Linked DNA regions of Homo sapiens: regions 1 and 3 are each linked to region 2. Evidence: promoter capture Hi-C in 16 types of primary human blood cells and fetal thymus (Javierre and others, 2016). All regions are on one chromosome and are shown on one strand. Each heading gives the region's core, a stretch centred on a gene start or on the middle of the fragment in contact. The rest is flanking DNA. Distances are from core to core; before and after follow the strand shown.

Region 1 (3,182 bases), core at 275-2,774, 370 kb after region 2:
CTAAACTCCTCTCGATTCCCTTATTTCCCTGTCATTCACCTGGCACTTAGTAACTAGCAGCCTGCTACAGCTGTTTACCTTTTAATCTAATCTTTTCACAGGCATTTTCTTTTCAAGCCCATGACAGTCATTTCCTCACAGGCATGAACCATAAAGCATGCTTTAAGAAACTGAATATGATGGTAACAGGCAACCCTAAGAAAACTTTTAGGAAGTAAAATCCCCCTAACAAGAACAATCAATTTCACTTTTTCATGTTTCTTTCTAGCTCTTGCCCATTCCTGTATACATTTTTACATAGTAATAATAATAGATTTGATCAGTTACACGTACAGCTTTACATTCTTTTTCCACTAACAGAGAAAACGATCTTCCTTGTTAAATGGTTTTGACTGTCATCATTTTAATCGCTGTATAATAGTCCCTCCATTGAGATACTAGATCATGATTACCAAGGCACTGACTCTACATTGACTCTATTAGACATTATTACATACTTCTGTGTCTTTCACCACATCAAGTATTGGAAAATGCCAAGTAAACTCATTTGAAATATCTCCTGAAATAAATTTCTTGTCCATTCTCCCTAACACCTGAAATAATCTATTTCACTGTTTCTATCTTCATTTCTTTCGTTTCCCGGTTCTACCCCCTTAGGCTAGGTAGGTAACAAAGGTATTCCAAACACCTTTTATAGATATTTACTTATTTTGGTAGTTGATCTTATACAGATTTACACACAGGAAATCCCTTGAGGAAAAGCATTAAGATCTCATCCTATCTAATATAAGCCAGATACCTGGCAGGCACTCAATCAATGTTTGCTTACCTATTAAATGTTTTTTAAGCCACCTAAAGTTAGAAAACATCAAATTCCTGGAAAGGAGAATGTTGCTGATCTAACTAATCCCACCAATTACGGCTACAGAACTTTCAGCTCCTGTAATGATTAGACGGGTTAATAATGTATGAATGGGTGTTCTGTGCGGCACATGGAAGCACACAAGAATTATCTGTTTAGCTGTACAGTCTGAACAACAACACTGGAAAACAAACGATATCTGCAAATAGAACTTGAAGATCTTGTGACAAAAATTTACCCTTTTCTCTAGTTGTTTAGCTTTGCATCTCAGATGAAGAAAGGCAAAATAAAGGTTGTAATATTAAAATTATGTAAAATTACATACACGTGTGAGCACAAACTGGCATGGAAATGAAAAGCTGTTAGGATGAAGAAAGTATGTGAACTTTTTTCTTTTTCTTTTTCCTTTTGTTAGTGGAATGTTAAAATAAATGTATGACTAGACAAATATTTCTGACAAATTAGCCATTACAACTCTTCCTGTTACTGAATTAGGGCCTAATGCTTAACCTTCAAATAACTAAGGTTCCCAAACCCACATACAGTTTAGCAGAAAGACTAAAATACTCTCACTTCGAGGATAACTGTTAAATAATAAATCAGCTAACCACCTTAAAACTCCAAACACCTAAGCACAACCACTGAATCACACAAGAACTTAATACACCAGAGTTTTCTGGAAATTTTCAGATTTTCCTCAAAAGATAGCTAATGTGATTCCAAATATCAGAGTCTACACAGTAAAACTACATCATCACAGTAACCCATTCTCATCCCCGTCCTCTTTTATAGATAGCGATTTATAAGGTTGCTTCCGGCACCTATATGATAGAAACTATTAGGACTCAAGTTTTACTCTTTGTCATAATTATACAGTATTACATAATACTAATAACTGTTCAAAGTAATATTCTTTTCAAAATTACTGGAAAGGTTCCTACAGATCATACAAGGAAGAAAAAAAAGGAAATTACTGGAAAGAAATATGGTTTTGTTTTAGTCTTTTTTTTTTTTGAGACAGAGTTTCACTCTTGTCGCCCAGGGTGGAGCACAGTGGCACGATCTTGGCTCACTGCAACCTCCGCCTCCTGGGTTCAGGCTATTCTCCCGCCTCAGCCTCCTTAGTAGCTGGGATTACAGGCGTCCACCACCACGCCCGGCTAATTTTTTGTATTTTTAGTAGAGACAGGGTTTTGCCATGTTAGGCAGGCTGGTCTCGAACTCCTGACCTCAGGTGATCCACCCGCCTCGGCCTCCCAAAGTGCTGGGATTATAAGCGTAAGCCACCGTGCCTGGCCTGTTTTAGTCTTTTTATACAAACTTTGGACACCAATTTTTAAAAATCACTGGATTTACAATCCCACCACACTGTATTCCATAATAACCTTTATATTTATGTGAACAATTACTTCATAACAAAAATGGAAAAGAACAAATTTATGTGTGGTAATCACTGAAAAAAGAAGTCCACATGCACGTCAGGAAATATAAGGCTAAGAATGGGCACTAAGTGAACACAGGAGGTACTTTACACCAAATAATGCACTTCTCTATATAGGCTAATGGAATCTATGGGTAAACCTCAATTTCAAAATGATTGTTGAACCCAAGGATCAGCTCACATCCGTTCCACAGCTAAAACTATTATTCTTTGCCTTCCTCTAAACTCTGATGTTTATTACAACCTTATCAATGGCAATTTATAAGAGAAAAGCATAAGAATTTCCCTCAAAAAGTGAAACCAATGGGGAAAGGGAGAGGGAAAGGGCTCTAAATATCTGAGATGTCTTTTGTGGTGGTTGGTTAGCGGCCTCTTTTTAGCACTGACATTTCCAAGTTTTTTGTGAAAAGGAAATTTTAAGAATGTGCTGAAACCATCCTTTCAGAATCAATTCCCAGATAAGTTATGTTTCATTTGGCTTCTTTCTTTAAATTATTGTGATGGTAAACTGGAAGTAAACTGAAATACAGATACCTGAATATTTAAAAACTGATGCTTCTGAAAATTTTCAGAATTGTATCGACGTTTATTGTGTGTTGTCAGAGCACGAGATTAGTGAAGCAAAGCAGGACTCAATCTTGCACTAGTTGAGAACTTAAAGTAATTAAGTTCTTAGGGAAAAAAACTCACCTGACAGCTTTAATCGGACCTAGCAGGAACAGGACAAAACAATTCCCATAGATGAGATAACTCCAAGCGAGAAACCAATTTCCCCGAGAAGGACAAACCAACAAAGCTTATGTCAACTGGTTGATCTGTATGTCTCAATATATACAAAAGAAAGCAAAGAAGAGGAAAACAACCTATAATTTCTACATA
Region 2 (3,316 bases), core at 816-3,315:
AGGAGGATTTTATGAGCAAACTAAAATATATGTAAAGTAAACCCTGGCTTTTTGATACCCTCACTAATGAGTTGTTATGGGAAAAACTATTTCACACTTCCCTGCCTTCTTAAACTGAACACATTAAATATAATTTGCTCTTTATTGAGAACACAGGGTCCATGCTTTAGCCAATAAGGTACCAAGCTCTTATGCTCCTATAAGCTGACCTCTTTCATGGAAGGCCCTGGCTTACTTATCCTTATCAGTTCAAGAGTCACGTTTCCAGGAAGCTGTCCCCTGACCTCCCCAATCCTCTGTTCTCTGAATTCCCAAAACCCTGAACACGCCTCTATTTCACCATGAACACAGTGAATTATAATTTCGGACCAGGCATGGTGGCTCATGCCTGTAATTCCAGCACTTTGGAAGGTTGAGGTGGGCAGATACCTTGAACCCAGGAGTTTGAGACCAGCCTGGGCAACATGGTTAAACCCCATTTCTACAAAAAAAATAAGCAGGGTGCAGTGGTGCGCGCCTGTATTCCCAGCTATATGGGGAGACTGACGCGGCGAGAGGATCGCTTGAGTCCGAAAGGTGGAGGTAGCAGCGAGCTGAGAACGCGCCACTGCACTTCAGTCTGGGCCCCACAAAGCCAGACCCTGTCTCTAAATAAATAAATAATAACTTTGGTTTACTTTTCTATCTTCTTCTTAGGTTGCATGCTTCTGTAGGGCAACGGCTATGACTTTTAATTCTGCATTATTAAATGTGTAACACACTGACCCAGGGGTAAGTTGCTATTCTCAAGGTTTAGTGACCCGCATCCTTCCCCTTATATAAACAGATTTATACGGGGACAATTTCGGAATTGAATCCACTTTTAATACTTTCTCTGACTTCGCAGAAAACAGCTGGCTTTGCAGAATATATGCCTGTAGCACAATGATTATCAAGATGAGGGTAGGTGTGTTGTGTGGTTTGGCAAAGCATGTTCAGATAATTATATAAATGGTAAAAAATAAACTTTTTTTTTTTTTGAGACAGAGTCTCGCGCTGTTGCAAGGCTGGAGTGCAGTGGCGCGATCTTGGCTTACTGCAACCTCTGCCTCCCGGGTTCAAGCGATTCTCCTGCCTCAAGTAAAGCTTGACAATAACTTGGCTGCACAAATATGGGTTTTAAAAGGTTGAGAAACAGTGTTTCACACCTGCCTTTCTACACTATGTTATTAACTAATTGAATCGAGTTGGAATAAACTAGTTAGACTTGTGTGCACAATGAGTCAAATGGCTCAAATCAAAGGTCTGAGGAGCCTCCATGAACCAGGTGCTTGAGCTGTGTGATGTTAAGACTTCAGGTATACCGAGCACGCTTCATTCAGCCTTGGCTCATGAAGTCCCTACAGTCTTAGAATGGAATACCATATAACACTTCTCTGCCCATCTAAATCCCATGCAGGGTTTAAGACTCAACTTCTCCACACTCTGACCTCGTCCTGAATTCCAAGGGCAGTGAGGAGTCTATATAACAGGATATTTAATAAGTGATTACGTTCTGCTGGATGTTTTTTACTGTCTGCTTAAATCTAGCCAGTCTCAACAACAGTAGGGAGACAGGATACTCAAGCGCCAATCGAATGGAAACGGATTGTTAACAGCCTATTATAACCCTCACGTGGGAACCAGGACGTCCAAACCTGGTTAACAGAGCCCACAGAGTTCATGGGCGAAGGACTGTGACAGTCAACCTCTTGTCTGAACAAAAAGACCCACTAACGAGTGAAAAAAGACCTCCTGGGAGGGATGGGGTGGGGGAGAGGGAATTCAAACCTTCTCAACAACAAAAAGCAGCTTTCCTTAGCCCACTCCACTTTCCAGCTCAATAATTGCTACCCCTCCCGTGCGACGATTCCCTGCCCAACGTAGGAAAAAAAGAGGTCCAAAAGGTTATAGCATCACCTTTGCCCTCTGACCTAGGAGCGAAGACTCACCAGTTTCATAATGGACTTTTGGTGGTTCAATAGCAGTCACTGAACTCCTCAAACCCAGGAAGCGTCTTCCGGTGCAATCTCCGCCACCTGCCAGCCGAGAGCATCGCGGGACTTGCAGTCTTTCATCCTCACGTCCCTTCCAGGGGAATAATGGGAAATGTAGTCTCCCCTCCAGGCATCATGGGAACTGTGGTCGCCTTTCCTTTTCCTCCCTTTCCTCTCCGAACGCCTCCTTCCGTCAGCTCAAATTCATCCCAGCCGCCAATGCATCCTCCCTCTCCACCCCAGCATGATATCATGTCTTCCTTACGGGCCTGGGGCCCATGGTGTTCTGGGATGTGTAGTCCCGACGGCTCCGACTCCCCTTTCCCTCCTCCCAAAGGGAAGGCGGATGGGCACGGGGCTTGCCGGAAGTTGTAGTTCCCTTGGCCCTCTAGGCGCCGGGCTCCGCAATTTTTCTCAGGGGAGGCAGGAACTACAACTCCCAGGGACGCCCGGCGGCAGCAGGTGGGAGAGGGGCTGTTGATATCAATATGGCGGTTGTCAGCCAGACAAAGACAGTCAGTCTGATGTGATTGAGACAAGGGAGGTTTTTCAGGGGGAGACTGGGAGATAGGGGCCTCCCCTCCCCCTTCTCCTCTTCCTGCGCCGGCCTCAACCCCTCCCCAGTCCCCTCCCGACGGGCGCCCCACGCGGAAGACACCCCTCCCCCTCCCGCCTTCCCTCCTCCCTATCTCAGCCCTTCGTACTGGGACGTTGGGGAGGGGGCTGTGCCGGGCGGAGAGAACTCAGCGAGGATTCTGAGGTGAGTCGAGCGGTTTTGAAGCCGGACTACCTCAAGTCTCTTTCCTCACTTCTTTCTCTTCACTTAAAACAATTTTTTTGGAGGGGTTTTGGGGAGGAAGTGAGCGGACGCTGGGGATGGGTCTCGTAAGCGGCCGGATTGAGAGGAGGGAGGAAGCAGGGGGCTTCCGAGTGGGTGACCCAGACGCGGGCTGTGGGGTGGGGCAGTTCGTGGGGTCCGGTCCTGGAAAGGCGTCGACTGCCCCCCAACTCTTCTGGTTTCCTCTACGATGAGCGGAAGGTTTGAATCCTGGAGGTGGGGTCTCCGGTGTGGAGTTCTGGAAACTGTGAGGTGATTTGCAGGTGTGTTGGTTTGTTTGGGGTGTGTAAGTGTGTTTAAACTGTGTGACGTGTACTTGTGTGCTCTGCTCGTCTTGGAGCGGTGTCTGTAGATGGGAAGTTAGACAGCGCGAGTCCTCGCTCGCTCTGGGCCTGGGCTGAGGGGCGGGCGTGAGGTCCTGGTGCTGGGCGTTTGGGCTGGCGACGTGGTGCGAGGCGGCCGG
Region 3 (3,288 bases), core at 406-2,905, 430 kb after region 2:
ACTCCCATCAGGAGGACGGTATCCACGCGTAAACTACCAGGGGTTGGGTTATCATGGGTCAAGATTTGACCAAAGAACAGAAAGTATTTTTTTAAAACAGTGCAACAGCTACTTAAGGCTATCCAGTGCACTGTAGAGCCTGGAGCTCTACACAAGCTTTTGTTTTTAATTCGGCAGGAATGCCCTCTGTTTCCTGATCAAGGAACCTTAGAATTATTTATGGGTGCAGGTAGTCCGCTGCCCGGAAAGAGGATATGAGCAAGGCCATTTTAACTATTTTGACCACCTGAGCGCTGGTACGCTCCGCGTTGTAGCCTCTTTTTCTGCCGGATTGCGGTGAGTCAGGCTGCCCATCTTCTCCGCCTGAAGGGAATTCAGGAGATTTAAAGGAGAAGGAAAAACAGGAACCAAGACAACAGGGAGAGACTCCTCCCCACTCTTCATTCCCTTCTATGGGGGCTAAAGAAGAGATTTTTGCTAGTGAGGATGAGGACAGACCGGAGCCTTTTCCTTCCCCTATAGAAAAGTCATTGCCCTCCTTTCCTCCACCCTTAAAGGGACCTGCATCCGTTGGCCCCATTCAGCCAACAGCGCCTCCCATCCGCCTTGAGGAGATTGGAGGCCGCCCAAGAGATGGTTCTTGGATAAGACCTCGGTCAGTCTTAGTAGACGGGGGCCTCGGGGGCCTCCAAGAGGGACTTCGGAAGGGAGACTCTGAGGCGCTTTTTGGCGCATTCCTTGTTATTGTTCAAAACAACAGGAGACGTCATGAGAGTTTGCCTTTTACTGCCTTTGAAGAGTTAAAGAAAAGTATTCATGAAAATGGTGTACATTCACCCTTTACGCAGGGGATGATTGAGGCTTTGGGAAATGGTTATAAGATGACTCCACATGACTGGAAAACTTTACTAAAACTTTTGGTTTCACCTGCTGAATATACTGTGTGGTGGAGTGAGTCCAGTGATTTAGCCGTGTAGCAATCCTTACACAATTTGGATAATAATATCCCCATGCAACTTGATATGCTATTGGGAACAGGGCCTTTTGCTTCAACTCAGGCTCAGGCTTAGGCTCAGGCAGATAGCCGTCTATTTCCTCAATGCTCACAGCTAACAATACAAGCATAAAAAATACCCATAAGACAATCCCAGGGTTCCTTTATGATAGTTAAACAGGGTGCCACAGAAACATACATTGAATTTATCAACTGATTGCAGGCTGCAATAAAAAAACAGGCACCCTATCCTAAAGCTGCCAAACTTCTTATGTTGTAATTGGCTTTTGAAAATGCAAATAAGGATTGTCAGGCAGCAATAACTCCAGTCCGAGCCACTGCCACTGAAATCAGCGTGTTTATTAAAGTGTGCCAGAATATAGGCACTACAACCCATCTGGCTCAGACCTTTGCTGCAATGTTGACTGGGGCCACGTATTATAATTGTGGCCTAACTGGGCATATGGCCAAAATAACCCCACTACTCTTTTCCTACTGTTAAACAAGAAACAATTTCATACTCTCCTAGCTTGTGATCTTGATTGGCAAGTAGCAATGACTGACTTTATTGGTAATATCAGCTTTCATTGACCAGCCTCTAAACTCCTGAACTTTTTACAAACTGTGCCTGTTAAATTTGTATTTATGTTGTCTCTGAGCCCTTGCTTCACGCCACTTCTGTCTTTACAGATGGTTCAGGAAAAACTGGAAAGGCAACTATAGTGTGGCAAGATGCCACGCAGAACTGGCAGCACAAAATCCAGGAACGTTTTAAAACTACGCAACAGGCGGAGTTAGGTGCCCTCATATTGGCCTTACAAACTTTTCCTCACCATGACATAAATATGATGATAAAGTGATTCCTCTTATGTGGTGTAGTATTACTGATTTAGATCTTGCACATGCGAAGGGCATTACTAATGAAACCCTACTAGCTTTGTTTCTTACAGCACAAGAGCTCCTCTGTGCCTGTCATCACCCTCTTTACATCACACATATTTGCTCTCATTCTGGGCTATCTAGTCCTTATCAGAAGGGAACCTTCGAGCTGATGCTCTGGTACAAACACAGATGTGGTTTGCAGAGTCTCCTGCCTTTTTGCAAGCTCAAGCTGATCATTGTTTTTTTTTTCATTAGAACGCCCACAGTCTTAAACAACAGTTTCATTTGACACTTGCTCAAGCTCTCATGATTATTAAAACTTGTCCTGATTGCCAATGACATTCTCTTTCCCCCTTTTCCTTAGGGCTTGGTACCAACCCACGAGGTCTGGTGCCTAATGTTATTTGGCAAACTGATGTTACTCAGTATCCATCCTTTGGACGTTTCAAATTTCTCCAAGTTACCGTAGACGCTTATACAGGCTTAATACATGCTACCCCCTGGACTGGAGAAATAAACTGAAGATGCAATTGCTCATCTTTTTGAATCTCTTATGACTTTAGGTCTTCCACAAACTATTAAAACTGATAATAGACCTTGCTATCTTAGTGCTCGATTTGCACATGTATTGCAACTTTGGCACATACAACACAAAACTGGTATTCCTTATAACTCAACCAGTTATTAAACAAACTCATCAAACAAACAAAAAAGGGGGAATATGGGGCTCTCTTCTCTAGAATAGGACCTGTCATTGGAGAATTGACTGACAATGACGGTGATGACTCAGAAGGCACCTGACATTACCTGGGGACCGCTAAAGAAATTGGACCAACAGGCAACTATCCGGCTTGCCGCTGTGGAGGCCCCTGCAACTGCAGAGAATCAGTTTCTTATGTAACTGGCGGTAATTGGGGAAACTTCTGAGAAAAGTAAGACAGACACAGATGTTGGGCTGGTTGGTAATTCTTGTCCTTTGCCAAGTGAGATCAGCTCAAGAACATGTTTATTGGAGTCATATTCTAAATCCCCTTGTTTTTAATGTTATTACACAGTGGGATGCTGACCTGCCTTTGTTATCTAATGATACTTCTTGGACAGGAGGTCGATAGGTGTCCCTGTCATACCCCTTAACTGAAAATTTGGGATGGATTAAACTTAATGACTCCTTGATTTTATTGTTTAGTAATCCCCTCTTTGTTTTTCCACAATAGCACATGGTAAGTGTGTTACTCTCATTCCTCAGGAGTATCTTAACTATCAGCCTAAAAGGGATGCTAAGCTTGCAAACTTGACCTTTATTTCTGCTGTTACTACTAATCTTACTAAGGTCTCTCATGAAGCTGTACAAGTGCCTGATCTTCCTATATGCCGTCCGAGTGGGGACTGGTGATATAAGTTTGAGGCTGTCC

Evidence for each region. The method cuts DNA at HindIII sites, captures the fragments that hold promoters and counts their contacts. A CHiCAGO score of 5 or more calls a contact.
Region 1: a contact is called between a fragment that was not itself captured here and the fragment with the promoter of INTS9 in region 2, in 7 of 17 cell types (fetal thymus, naive CD4 T cells, non-activated CD4 T cells and 4 more). The highest score is 7.4, in fetal thymus.
Region 3: a contact is called between a fragment that was not itself captured here and the fragment with the promoter of INTS9 in region 2, in 1 of 17 cell types (endothelial precursors). The highest score is 5.4, in endothelial precursors.

What each region holds. Positions count from the first base shown.
Region 1 is chr8:29,258,758-29,261,939 of GRCh38, forward strand. The region is part of intron 1 of KIF13B (kinesin family member 13B); the gene reads right to left. Among named protein-coding and RNA genes, the nearest start is that of KIF13B, 2.7 kb to the right of the region's middle. The HindIII fragment of the contact is 3,145 bases long and covers 1-3,097 here.
Region 2 is chr8:28,887,904-28,891,219 of GRCh38, forward strand. It overlaps INTS9 (integrator complex subunit 9), which reads right to left and starts at 2,066. Exons shown (of 17, transcript NM_018250.4): 1 at 1,971-2,066. The coding sequence starts at 1,979. HMBOX1 (homeobox containing 1) reads left to right here and starts at 2,492. Exons shown (of 10, transcript NM_001135726.3): 1 at 2,492-2,775. RefSeq lists enhancers at 1,849-2,405, 2,045-2,244, 2,406-2,962 and a silencer at 2,615-2,734. The HindIII fragment of the contact is 2,854 bases long and covers 1,124-3,316 here.
Region 3 is chr8:29,315,147-29,318,434 of GRCh38, forward strand. All of the region lies in intron 1 of LOC124901922 (a long non-coding RNA gene), which reads right to left. Among named protein-coding and RNA genes, the nearest start is that of DUSP4, 34 kb to the right of the region's middle. RefSeq lists an enhancer at 1-72. The HindIII fragment of the contact is 3,002 bases long and covers 155-3,156 here.